Regions from separate parts of the Homo sapiens genome. Here region 1 is linked to region 2. Evidence: promoter capture Hi-C in human tissues and cell types (Jung and others, 2019). All regions are on one chromosome and are shown on one strand. The core of a region is centred on a gene start or on the middle of the fragment in contact, and the rest is flanking DNA. Distances in the headings are between cores, read along the strand shown. Region 1 overlaps SCP2 (sterol carrier protein 2). Region 2 holds the start of PODN (podocan).

Region 1 (6,103 bases), core at 3,138-5,637, 57 kb before region 2:
TTTTTTTAAAGTTCCGCCAGAGCTTCTCATGCATAGCCAGATTTGAGGGCTAGGGTTAGGATATACAAGGTAACTACTAGTCTCAGGAAGTGTATAAGAGGCAGATAATACAAGAACACAAATACTTATATATTTAAATAAGTAATTATAATACAAGGCAGAATGTGCTGTAGAAGAAGTACAAAGCAGAAGTATGAAGAGGAGAAAAAGGGAAAGGAGGATGGCAGGGTCATGAAGATTTGCTAAATCCCATCACATGCCTGGTGTTTTGCCAGCATTTCTATCTACTTGAGTTTTGGGGAAGGAGATGCACAAAGAGGAAGCATGTTTAAACCAAACTGTTTGCTTTTACCAAACAGGTTTAATTCCTTCTTGCCTATACAAACTCTACCTTTGTTATTTTCTCAATAATAATACACTGTTCTAAGTATACTTCATGTACAAGTGCATTCAATTTTCATATCGATTTTTCTCTTTTACAAAAGAAGAAAATAGAGGCATGGAGAGTTTAAATGATTTGCATGAAGTCATCAAGCTAGAGAGTGGCAAAGCTAAGATTCAAACACAGGCTATGTATTCCTAGCGTCCAGGGTCTTAACCATTATACTGTTCTTCAGTGTCCTTTCCTCACTGGAAACGCCCATCTTCAAGTGCTCTCTCAAATGCTATCCACCTTATGAAGCTTTTCCTGTTTCACTGATTCTTTCCATAGATTGAATTAATCTTTCCCTTTTCTGAACTCCTATACTTTCTCAGTACTTTTCTTTTGACATTTATGCTCATAGTATATATTATCATTATTTATAGGCTTTAAAAAAATCTTCCCTATTTAGGCTGGGTGCGGTGGCTCATGCCTGTAATCCCAGCACTTTGGGAGGCCAAGATGGGTGGATCATGAGGTCAGGAGATCGAGACCATCCTGGCTAACATGGTGAAACCCCGTCTCTACTAAAAATTCAAAAAATTAGCTGGGTGTGGTGGCAGGCGCCTGTAGTCCCAGCTACTCAGGAGGCTGAGGCAGGAGAATGGCGTGAGCCTGGGAGGCGGCGGAGCTTGCAGTGAGCCGAGATCACGCCACTGCACTCCAGCCTGGGTGACAGAGTGAGACTCCGTCTCAAAAAAAAAAAAAACAAAGAAAGAAAAAAGAAAAAAATATCTTCCCTATTTAAGAGCCTATGAAGTCAGGATTCATATTTCATTTGTCTCTCTACCTTGAACAGTGTGCAATACATTGCATATTTAAAGGGATAGTTGAATATATTATTGCTCCTTTAACATCTAGAACGTGGCATGGAGCAAAGGGAATACATTTGTTTAATGTGGGAAGAATTAGGATCATTAGGAAGAATTCATTGGAAGTTATATTTTGGCCGGATACAAGAGAACTTTCTAACATGGCTTCTCAAAAATGGAATAGGTTGCCTCCTGAGAGCATGCATTTACCTGTCAGAGAGGCTGTGCACAAAAAATACATGTAACAACTTGATAGGAATGTTGTAAGGAGAATTTTGCCCATCTGTTGGGCCTTAGATTTGATGAATTCATAGATCCTTTTCAATTCTATTATAAGATGCTCTGATCTCCTGTGCGAAGTAATTATTTCTTTTTCTGCATTCACATAGTTCTTGATGTTTCTAATGACACGTATATTATTATTCTATCCTGTGATTTTTGTTTACATGTTTCAGTACTTTTAAAGGCATTATAAACTTCTTAGGTCTTAAGAATTTGGGTGAAAATGATGTGAGAAGAAGTGGAATTTTAACCAAGGGACCGAGCATTTTCAAATCAAACCATGGCTTATCTCGTCTACTCTGTAAGAGGTTGCCAAAATAAATCCTAGGACGATGACTGGTAAGGCCTAAATCCAATATAAACTCTTAAAAAGCCAGCAAGTCAGTAAGAGCTAATTAGCTTTTCACCAAAATTTCTTTTTTACCTTTCATCATATCCTCCAGGCCACCCATCCTTGTTTCCATTGCCCAGAGTTTTGCATTTTTACCACTGCAATGTGAGGAGAGGTAAATTTTATCATTAAACTCTATCTGTGCCAGGACAAATGGAGCCCAGGAGATGGTGTCTACTCTAGATACCTGTTGCTAGCTAGAGATAACTAGGAGAAAGCCCTGAATTTCTGTTTCTATTTCTTTTCTTTTTTTATTTTTGAAACCAGGATTTCGCTCTGTTGCTCTGGCTGGAGTGCAGTGGCATGATCATGGCTCATTGTAGCCTCGATTTCTTGGGCTCAAATGATTCTACTATCTCAGTCTCCCAAGTAGTTGGGACTGCAGGCACGCACCTTCATACCTGGCTAATTTTTTACATTTTTGGTAGAGACGGGCTTTCGCCATGTTGCTTAGGCTGGTCTCGAACTCCTGGGATAAAGCAATCTGCCCATGTTGGCTTTCCAAAGTGCTGAGATTATAGGCATGAGCCATCATGCCTTCTTTTTCTTTTTTTGAGATAGAGTCTTCCTCTGTTGCCCAGGCTGAAGTGCAGTGCAAACATGGTGCAAACATGCTTACTGCAGTCTCTACTTCCTGGGCTCAAGTGATCCTCCCGCCTCAGTCTCCCAAGTAGCTGGGACCACAGGTGCACACCATCATGCCCAGCTAATTTTATTTTATTTTTTCTTTTGTAGAGATGGGGTCTCCCTATGCTTCCCAGGCTGGTCTCAAACTCCTGGGCTCAAGTGGTCCTCTCTCCTTGGCCTCCCCAAAAGCTGGGATTACAGGCGTGAGTCACCACACCCAGCCCCTTTTTCTTTCTTCACAATTTCACGGATAGAAAATTCATTGTTACTGTAGATCTTAGCAACCTCAGCATGCCATTTTTTTCCCTTAAAGTTGGGAACTTCCACCTTTTCATTTAAAGGAAGCACTTGTATGCACATCTGAATCGCCACTTCACTCCTCTTGCGCTTTGGGGCCATCATTAAGTAAACTAAGGATGACTTGAACACGAGCAGTACCCATCACAGTACCCATCACAGTCATTCTAATAACAAAGATAGCTACTAACTGACTAACGGGTGGGTGGGATGTACCACTTGGATATGCTGGGCAAAGGGATGATTCACATCCCAGGTGGGGTGGAGCTGAATGGTGCGAGATTTTATCATGCTACTCAGAACAGCATGCAACTTAAAACTTATGAATTGTTTATTTCTGGCATTTTCTATTCAATATTTTTAGACTGTAATCGACTGAGGGTAACTGAAACTGTGGAAAGTGAAACCATGGATGTGAGGGCACTACTGTATTTTACTTTTTTTTGAAATATATTTTACATGTGATAGATAATTTTGTCAGGCCTCTGAGCCCAAGCTAAGCCATCATATCCCCTGTGACCTGCACGTATACATCCAGATGGCCTGAAGCAACTGAAGATCCACAAAAGAAGTGAAAATAGTCAGTTCCTGCCTTAACTGATGACATGCCACCATTGTGATCTGTTCCTGCCCCACTCTAACTGATCAATTGACTTTGTGACAATACATCCTCCCCACCCTTGCGATAATGTATTTTGTGATATTCACCGCCCTTGTGAATGTACTTTGTAGGGTATACCCTCCCTGCCTTTAAGAAGGTTCCAAGATGGCCAAATAGGAGCAGCTCCAGTCTACAGCTCCCAGCGTGAGTGACGCAGAAGATGGGTGATTTCTGCATTTCCAACTGAGGTACCAGGTTCATCTCACTGGGGCTTGTCGGACAGTGGGTGCAGTCCACGGAGTATGAGCTGAAGCAGGGCAGGGCATTGCCTCACCCGGGAAGTGCAAGAGGTTGGGGAATTCCCTTTCCTAGCCAAGGGAAGCCGTGACAGATGGTACCTGGAAAATTGGGACACTCCCACCCTAATACTGCGCTTTTCCAATGGTCTTAGCAAATGGCACACCAGGAGATTATATCCCATGCCTGGCTTGGAGGGTCCCACACCCATGGAGCCTCGCTTGCTGCTAGCACAGCAGTCTGAGATTAAACTGCAAGGTGACAGCGAGGCTTGGGGAGGGGCATCCGCCTTTGCTGAGGCTTGAGTAGGTAAACAAAGTGGCTGGGAAGCTTGAACTGGGTGGAGCCCATCGCAGCTCAACGAGGCCCGCCTGCCTCTGTAGACTCCACTTCTTGGGGCAGGGCATAGCTGAACAAAAGGCAGCAGAAACTTCTGCAGACTTAAACGTCCCTGTCTGACAGCTTTGAAGAGAGTAATGGTTCTCCCAGCATGGAGTTTGAGATCTGAGAATGAACAGATTGCCTTAAGTGGGTCCCTGACCCCCGAGTAGCCTAACTGGGAGACACCTCCCAGTAGGGGCTGACCAACACCTCATACAGCCGGGTGTCCCTCTGAGATGAAGCATCCAAGGGAAGGATCAGGCAGCAACATTTGCTGTTCTGCAATATTTGGTGTTCTGCAGTCTCCGCTGGTGATACCCAGGCAAACAGGGTCTGGAGTGGACCTCCAGCAAACTCCAACAGACCTGCAGCTGAGGGTCCTGACTGTTAGAAGGAAAATTAACAAACAGAAAGGACATTCACACCAAAACCCCATCTGTACGTCACCATCATCAAAGACCAAAGGTAGATAAATCCACAAAGATGAGGAGAAACTAGAGCAGAAAAGCTGAAAATTCTAAAAATCAGAGTGCCTCTTCCCTCCAAAGGAGCACAGCTCCTCACCAGCAATGGAACAAATTTGGACGCAGAGTGACTTTGATGAGTTGAGAGAAGAAGGCTTCAGATGATCGGTAATAACAAACTTCTCTGAGCTAAAGGAGGATGTTCAAACCCATCGCAAAGAAGCTAAAAACCTTGAAAAAAAGATTAGACGAATGGCTAATTAGAATAAACAGCATAGAGAAGACCTTAAATGACCTGATGGAGCTGAAAACCATGGCACAAGAACTATGTGACACATGCCAAAGCTTCAGTAGCCGATTTGATCAAGTGGAAGAAAGGGTATCAGTGATTGAAGATCAAATGAATGAAATGAAGTGAGAAGAGAAGTTCAGAGAAAAAAGAATAAAAAGAAATGAACAAAGCCTCCAAGAAATATGGGACTATGTGAAAAGACCAAATCTACGTCTGACTGGTGTACCTGAAAGTGAGGGGGAGAATGGAACCAAGTTGGAAAACACTCTTCAGGATATTATCCAGGAGAACTTCCCCAACCTAGCAAGGCAGGCCAACATTCAAATTCAGGAAATACATAGAACGCCACAAAGATACTCCTCGAGAAGAGCAACTCCAAGACACGTAATTGTCAGATTCACTAAAGTTGAAATGAAGGAAAAAATATTAAGGGCAGCCACAGAGAAAGGTCGGGTTACCCACAAAGGGAAGCCCAACAGACTAACAGCGGATCTCTCGGCAGAAACTCTACAAGCCAGAAGAGAGTGGGGGCCAATATTCAACATTCTTAAAGAAAAGAATTTTCAACCCAAAATTTCATATCCAGCCAAACTAAGCTTCATAAGTGAAGGAGAAATAAAATCCTTTACACACAGGCAAATGCTGAGAGATTTTGTCACCACCAGGCCTGCCTTACAAGAGCTCCTGAAGGAAGTACTAAACATGGAAAGGAACAACTGGTACCAGCCACTGAAAAAACATGCCAAATTGTAAAGATCATTGATGCTAGGAAGAAACTGCATCAACTAATGAGCAAAATAACCAGCTAACATCATAATGACCAGGATCAAATTCACACATAACAATATTAACCTTAAATGTAAATGGGCTAAATGCTCCAATTAAAAGACACAGACTGGCAAATTGGATAAAGAGTCAAGACCCATCAGTGTGCTGTATTCAGGAGACCCATCTCACGTGCAGAGACACACATAGGCTCAAAATAAAGGGATGGAGGAAGATCTACCAAGCAAATGGAAAACAAAAAAAAGCAGGGGTTGCAATCCTAGTCTCTGATAAAACAGACTTTAAACCGACAAAGATCAAAAGAGACAAAGAAGGCCATTACATAATGATAAAGGGATCAATTCAACAAGAAGAGATAACTATCCTAAATATATATTCACCCAATACAGGAGCACCCGGATTCATAAAGCAAGTCCTTAGAGACCTACAAAGAGAATTAGACTCCCACACAA
Region 2 (6,154 bases), core at 2,883-5,382:
AGAGAAATTTCAGACTGAATACCATTGAATTTCCAGACAATAAAAATCGGTCATGAGTGGACTAGAAGCTCCAACCACAGAGATGCTTCTAGACCCACAAGGCAAAAACAGGGCATTTCATTGTGGGAGATGTACCTTAATAGTGGCTGAAAGATCATCTGAACAGGAGAAAGTGGTATTTCATTGACAGCCGCTCTTGAGGGTTTCTCCGTTTGCAGTTACCAAAATCTTTTTTTCTTCTATATGCTAGAAAGAAGACTTGAGATCTTTTTGCTTACTTGTTTATACCCTGACTGGTTCATAACTTAATTTGGAAGAAACATGACATACCTTTGGAAGAAACAGTCTTCAAAAGAAATGAGAATTCAAAAGCTTCAAGTTTTTGTAGTATGAAAGTAGTCTGAATTTGTTTTTTGTCTTTTTTTCATCCATTTTTATTTAGCTTAAGGTAACAGCTAGTTGGCTGGCTACAGTGTGGGAGACAACTCTCACTGGAGTTGGAACCTGAAGACTGAGTTTGAATTCTGACTCAAGCACTCATTAGCTGGGTCACCTGAGCAAGTTGCATATCCTCCCTGAGCACCCCTTTTCCAAAATAATGGGGCAATAATACCATCATGTTTGCTGTGAAGATCAAGTGAAACAGTGTGTGGGAAAGTGTGTACCAGTTTTAGTTATTCATGTTTGTTTTATTTTCTATTGTTGATGAAACAAATGATCACAAAGTAGTGATCATAAATTTATTATCTAACGGTTCTGTAGCCTAGAAGTCTGGTTGAGTTTGACTGGTTTCTTTGCTCTGGGTCTCACAAGGCTGAAGTCAAAGTATTGCTGCCCTGGGCTCCTATCTAGAGGCTCCAGGGGAGAAGGTGGCTCTGCTCCCACATTCATTCAGATGCTGGCAGAATTCTGTTTCATGCCGCTGTAGGACTGAAGTCCCTGTACCATTCCTGGCAGCCTACGGGTGTTTCACTTTCTAGAGGCTGCCTTATTCCCTAGCTTATGACCCTCTTCATCTTTAAAGCTAGTCAAGTCCTTCTGATGTTTCAAATCTCTCTGACCTCCTCTTCTGCTTCATCTTCTCTCTCTCCAGCTAGAGAAAGTTCTCTGTTTTTTAGGGCTCATGTGATTAGGCCCACCAGGGTAATCCAGAATATGCTCCCTATTTTGAAGTCCGTAACCTTAGTTACATCTGCAAAGTCACTTTCATCATGTAACATATCCAAAGGTTTTAGGGATTAAGGTGTGGATATCTTTGGGGCGGGGTTGGGGGGTATTCTGCCTATCACAGTGGTATTTTAGGGTGAGAGAGGAGAGCTTGCAGAACATGAGATTCTTGCCCTGGAGGACTCACAATCCAGTGGGAGAAAGAGGAAAAACAGCAAGAAAGTTCCAATAATAAAGAGTCTGTATGAGATGTTATAGCAGCCCAGGAGACTCCTTGTGTACTTGACTTGGACTGAAGATTTTTCATTATTCTCTTCTTGTTCCCTGGAGAGTCTTGCCTTCATCAAGGTCCTTCAGATGGAATTCATATACCCCAAACACCACCATGTGATTTGATTCCTTAAATGTCCAGAAAATCAAGCTGCTGCCATAGCTATTTGGGACTCTACTGCTTAATAAGATCTCAGCCCTCAGCTCAAAGTAGGAGGAATTATTTTCTTCTTTGATGATGAGGCATAACAAGAGCTCATTGTTCCTCATCTCCTGTTTCTCATCATCAAACCCCACTGAGAGCCTTCTTGTTCTTTACTCCTAGCTCTCTCTACCGTATCAATGTATGTCTTTCCTCCCTCCTCTTTGGAGTGTTCTTGTTTCTTATTGTTTTGAATTAGAAGGCACTTTCCCTGGGCAGTACAGAGGTTACTGTTTAATTCTTGCCACTTGTCATTTCTATTTTAATAATGTTTCCTGGCTATTTGGTCAGGTCTGGGTGATAGTTTTGCAGTAATAGCTACCATTTACTGAGCACTTACCATGTGACAGGTACTATGTAAAGTTCTGTACTTGCATTCTCCAATTTAGACATACTGTGAAGTGTAGGTACTATTTTTATATTCATTTGAACCTAGCTAGGATTTGAACCCAGCTCCAAGCTTAAAGCTTGTACTTGACACTATGTACTTCAGTAATATCAAACAGGAGCTGAAATTGAGGGGCAGCATGAAGGAATTGAAGCAGCACAAGTAGATTCAGGAAACCTCAATTTCAAACTCTGCCTTTACAATCCTTCTGAAAGAGGATTTGCTTCTAGAGCACCAAGGTTGCCTCCATTTTTCCACCAGAGACACTCAAAGTGATTCCTCCTGCAGCTTGTATCTATAGTAGCAGCCAACCACAAAGCACACATGGGCATTTGCTCAGCATTCCATAGAAAAGCCTATTTCTCTGGGAGGTGGTGGGTACTGGGTGTGTGGTGTGCCGTGTAGCGGGCCCCTGAAACACCTTGGCCTTAGCAGTTATAAGTATAGAGAATATCTTCCCCACAGGGCTAGGATGATTAAGATATTTTAAGGATTTAGGATGGTGCCTGTCATTTATTAGGCACTCAATATGTGCTGGCTCTCATTGTCCTAAAAGATTTTTAGTCCATGAGTATTCAAGCTAGTAGAATCCTGTCCTTTTAGCTCTACTTGAATCTAGGCTCAATGTTCAGGAGAAGACACGAGATGCATCTCTGTTGGTCCAGGTCCAATGCTGTGAATCACACCAACTCTTGTGAGTTTGAGCTCCAAAAGGACTGGAATTTGAGGCCAAAGAAGGCAAAATATTTTCCCTCCCCATTCTTGCTAAGTTCTTGGGTTGTTGGTGTAATGGAAACAGACAGTCCTGGGTTCAAATCTAGACTCTACATTTGCCTGCTCAAGTTACCTGCCTGTTTCCATCATGGGAAGAACTTGGGCTGTGGAGAAGGGTAAACCTGGGGTCAAAACCCCAGCTCTGCCAGTGAATGGGCATTTTACTCAGTCAAGTATCCTTTCTGAGGCCATCTCTTTTCTATAAAGTGGGGCAGCAGCAGTTCTTCCTTTGCGGAGTTGTGAAGCAGAGCATAATGCATATGGTATAACCTCACGGGGGCGGCAGCCAGTGAAAAGTCTGGAGCTGCTTTACAGGGGCCATTCATTCATTCATTCATTCAGGTTAAGGTTGAGCAAGGGGTCCCACGTGTGACTTATGCATCCTTCTCCCTCTTCAGTGGGAGGACAGCCAGGTGAGGCAGCTGTGGATGCCCTGCCCACAGGCCAGAGCAGGTAAGGGGAGGAGGCTTGCTACACAGTGGAGGTGCCAAGTACCACCTAAGCCCAGCCGCATTGCCTGTTCCACCGCCGAAGCCCCTGGCGCCAAACAGTGTTGCTTCAGCTGGTAGTAGTTAATACTCCTTTACTTGGAAACATTTTCAGTTCCTGGGAGCAATATGGTGGTGTGAGGTCTCACTGTTCACCCGCCCTGTTTCTCTGTGACTGGGATCTGCATGTCCCCGACTCCGGCCCAATTTACCATTCTTCAAGGCTCACCAGGCTGTGGGCCCAGGGCCAACAGGGATGGGAGTGGAGGGTGGGGTGGAGCGTGGGGAACTTTTCCGGGAAGAGGCCCAGCAGGGTCTTGGCTGGCGGCCCCATTAGCCACGGCCCAGGACCCCAGGGTGGGAGAGTGAACGGAAAGGTACTCGTGCCTGGAGCGGTTGCAACATCCTCTGTAATGAGGAAGATACAGCTCAGAGGCACTGGGTCGAAGGACCCCTCTCCCCAGCCCTCCTTTCAGGTGTCGGGGCCTAAAGGGGGTCCAGTTCCAGTGCGGAAGGCTGGGAACTAGGAAGCGTCGCGGACCAGACAGCCCGCCTTCCCGGTCTCCCGGGTGGGGGTTCGGGGGGCGTGGTGCGGCGGCCGGGGCTGAGAGGGGTCGGTGCGGCGGCTCTGCCTCCCCGGGAAGTGGGAACCGGCCAAGTCCCGAGCGGGGAGGGGCAGGCTTTCTCCTGCCCGCGCCTGGGGGGACCCTACGCCTGTGTCCGAAGGAGGCCGGCGTCCAGCAGATGCTCCCGGGGCGGGTGGGGAGTGGGGGAAGGGGGCGGGAGAGAGGCGGGGAGGAGAAAACCCACAACAAAACTTGCGTCGCGGAGAGCGCCCAGCTTGACTTGAATGGAAGGAGCCCGAGCCCGCGGAGCGCAGCTGAGACTGGGGGAGCGCGTTCGGCCTGTGGGGCGCCGCTCGGCGCCGGGGCGCAGCAGGTACAGGGCGCTGGCAGCCGGGGTGGGCCGAGGGGCCGGGGGCTGAGCCCGGGCAGCGCACTCAGACGTCCCCGCCTCTCCGGATGGCTCCAGCAGCTGCCTGGGGCGGGCCCGCCGCATCTCACCCCCTCTGTAGGACCCTGCACCCAGGGCACGGCCGGAGATCTCCTCCTCTGGAGTGCGACCCCTGCGCAGTCAGGACCCAGGCAGGGGCCTTCTCCTCTCTGAGCAGAGGCTGGTCCCCGTCCCCAGGCCCCTCCCGCTGCGCACATCTGGAAAGAATCTGAGGGCGGTTGGGGGCGGGGGCTGGAGTGGGAGGACGCCGGCGGGCGACAGGGAATGTGGGGGGCAGGTGGAACTGCGTAGGGGCGGGGACCCCTGTCATGAGAGCCTGGGCCCGAAGTATCCCCGCGTCTTTCCACGTCAACTCATCAGGCCCCCTAGCGACTCCAACCTCCACCTCTTTATAGATAGAGAAACTGAGGCCCAGAGAGGGGCAGAGGTCTGGCCCCAGGGCGCGTCGGACGCCGGGTGGGTCCCCTCCGGGGCTCGGCTTCCCCGGCCACTGTGCCGCCCCAGCTTAGTGCCAACCACTAGTTGAGCTAAAGGTCTCAGCTGGCGGTCTGGAGTCCGTCTATCTGTCTACGCGGCTGCTTCCCAGCCGGGACAGCTGGAGGGAGGAAGGGGTGGGGGTCCGCGAAGCGCGAGGAGCGAGATCCGCGCCTTCCTGCGAATGAGGCAGAAGCCCCAGGTTCCAGGTCCCCGAGCCACAGCCCGGCCTGGGGCGGGGGACGAGATCTTGGCGTTGGAATACCTGACGCTCCGTCAGGTGGAAGAGGAGGTGGTGGCGGGGCTGCGAGGCTCCTGGCAGCCTCGGGGGCTGGGGCTAGGAGAGGCAGCCGCAGCCTTTTGGAGAGGAGCAGGCGCGGCAGCAAGGGGCGAGCACCCCGGCCCCGGTGCGCGCGGCACTGACTGAGCTGGTCCGGGAGGCGCGGAGGATGCTCACCCAGCGCTTGGAGTGAATTACTGACCTGTCTGCCCTTCGATTACCGGCTGGCCAGGGAAGGGGAAGCTGTGGTCTGCCCTGCTCCACGAGGCGCCACTGGTGTGAACCGGGAGAGCCCCTGGGTGGTCCCGTCCCCTATCCCTCCTTTATATAGAAACCTTCCACACTGGGAAGGCAGCGGCGAGGCAGGAGGGCTCATGGTGAGCAAGGAGGCCGGCTGATCTGCAGGCGCACAGCATTCCGAGGTAGGTCACTCAGAAGAGCCCGTGGACTGCCCTGGGAAAGACCAGGGGGGACTGCTCTGGGGGTTCTGCTCCCTCATGTCCACTCTTAGGGCCCAAGACCCAGTCTACTCTAGCCTAGAGTGCAAGTTAAGAAATGTCAGAGTCACACGACTGTTTTCATGTCATCTGTGGGAGCACACTTTATCCCTTCTGTCTGAGTCTAGGATAGGGGATTACTAATGGTGGCACTTTTAGGCTTGGTGTAGTCATACATGCGAGTGCTGGCCGTGTCCTGCTTGGAACCCTTAATGAGTCCCTATCACCAACACTAGCATGGCGGTGGAGGCCCTTGGCCACCCAGGCCTCCCGCCCTGTTGACCCTTCCTTAAACACACGTCCCTCTCCTCTAGCCCCACCCCTACCTTTTGATCACACTCTACCTCTGCCTGGAGGGCTGTTTCTCCCACTCCGTCCACTTGGAGAACTCCCGCTCAGTCTTCAAGGCCAACTCAAGGCTCTGGGCAGGAGTCAGAAGACCCACATTTTACTCTTGGCCTTGGCTTTAACACACTAATTTGCAAACTGGGGGAGTCAGAGCAGATCATACTGCAGATCTTTAGATCTTTTCCAACTCTGCCTTTCACAAAGTCGTTCATTCAGCAAACATTTCCCCAGCACCCCCACTCCATGCTTGGG

What was found. Contacts are between HindIII fragments. The study calls those that stand out against the background at their distance.
Region 1: a fragment that was not itself captured here is called in contact with the fragment with the promoter of PODN in region 2 in 1 of the 25 tissues and cell types used here (adrenal gland).

Annotation. Positions count from the first base shown.
Region 1 is chr1:53,001,071-53,007,173 of GRCh38, forward strand. All of the region lies in intron 11 of SCP2 (sterol carrier protein 2), which reads left to right. Among named protein-coding and RNA genes, the nearest start is that of PODN, 58 kb to the right of the region's middle. The HindIII fragment of the contact is 4,035 bases long and covers 2,371-6,103 here.
Region 2 is chr1:53,058,081-53,064,234 of GRCh38, forward strand. PODN (podocan) reads left to right here and starts at 4,133. Exons shown (of 11, transcript NM_153703.5): 1 at 4,133-4,228. RefSeq lists a silencer at 4,111-4,298. The HindIII fragment of the contact is 18,135 bases long and covers 1,236-6,154 here.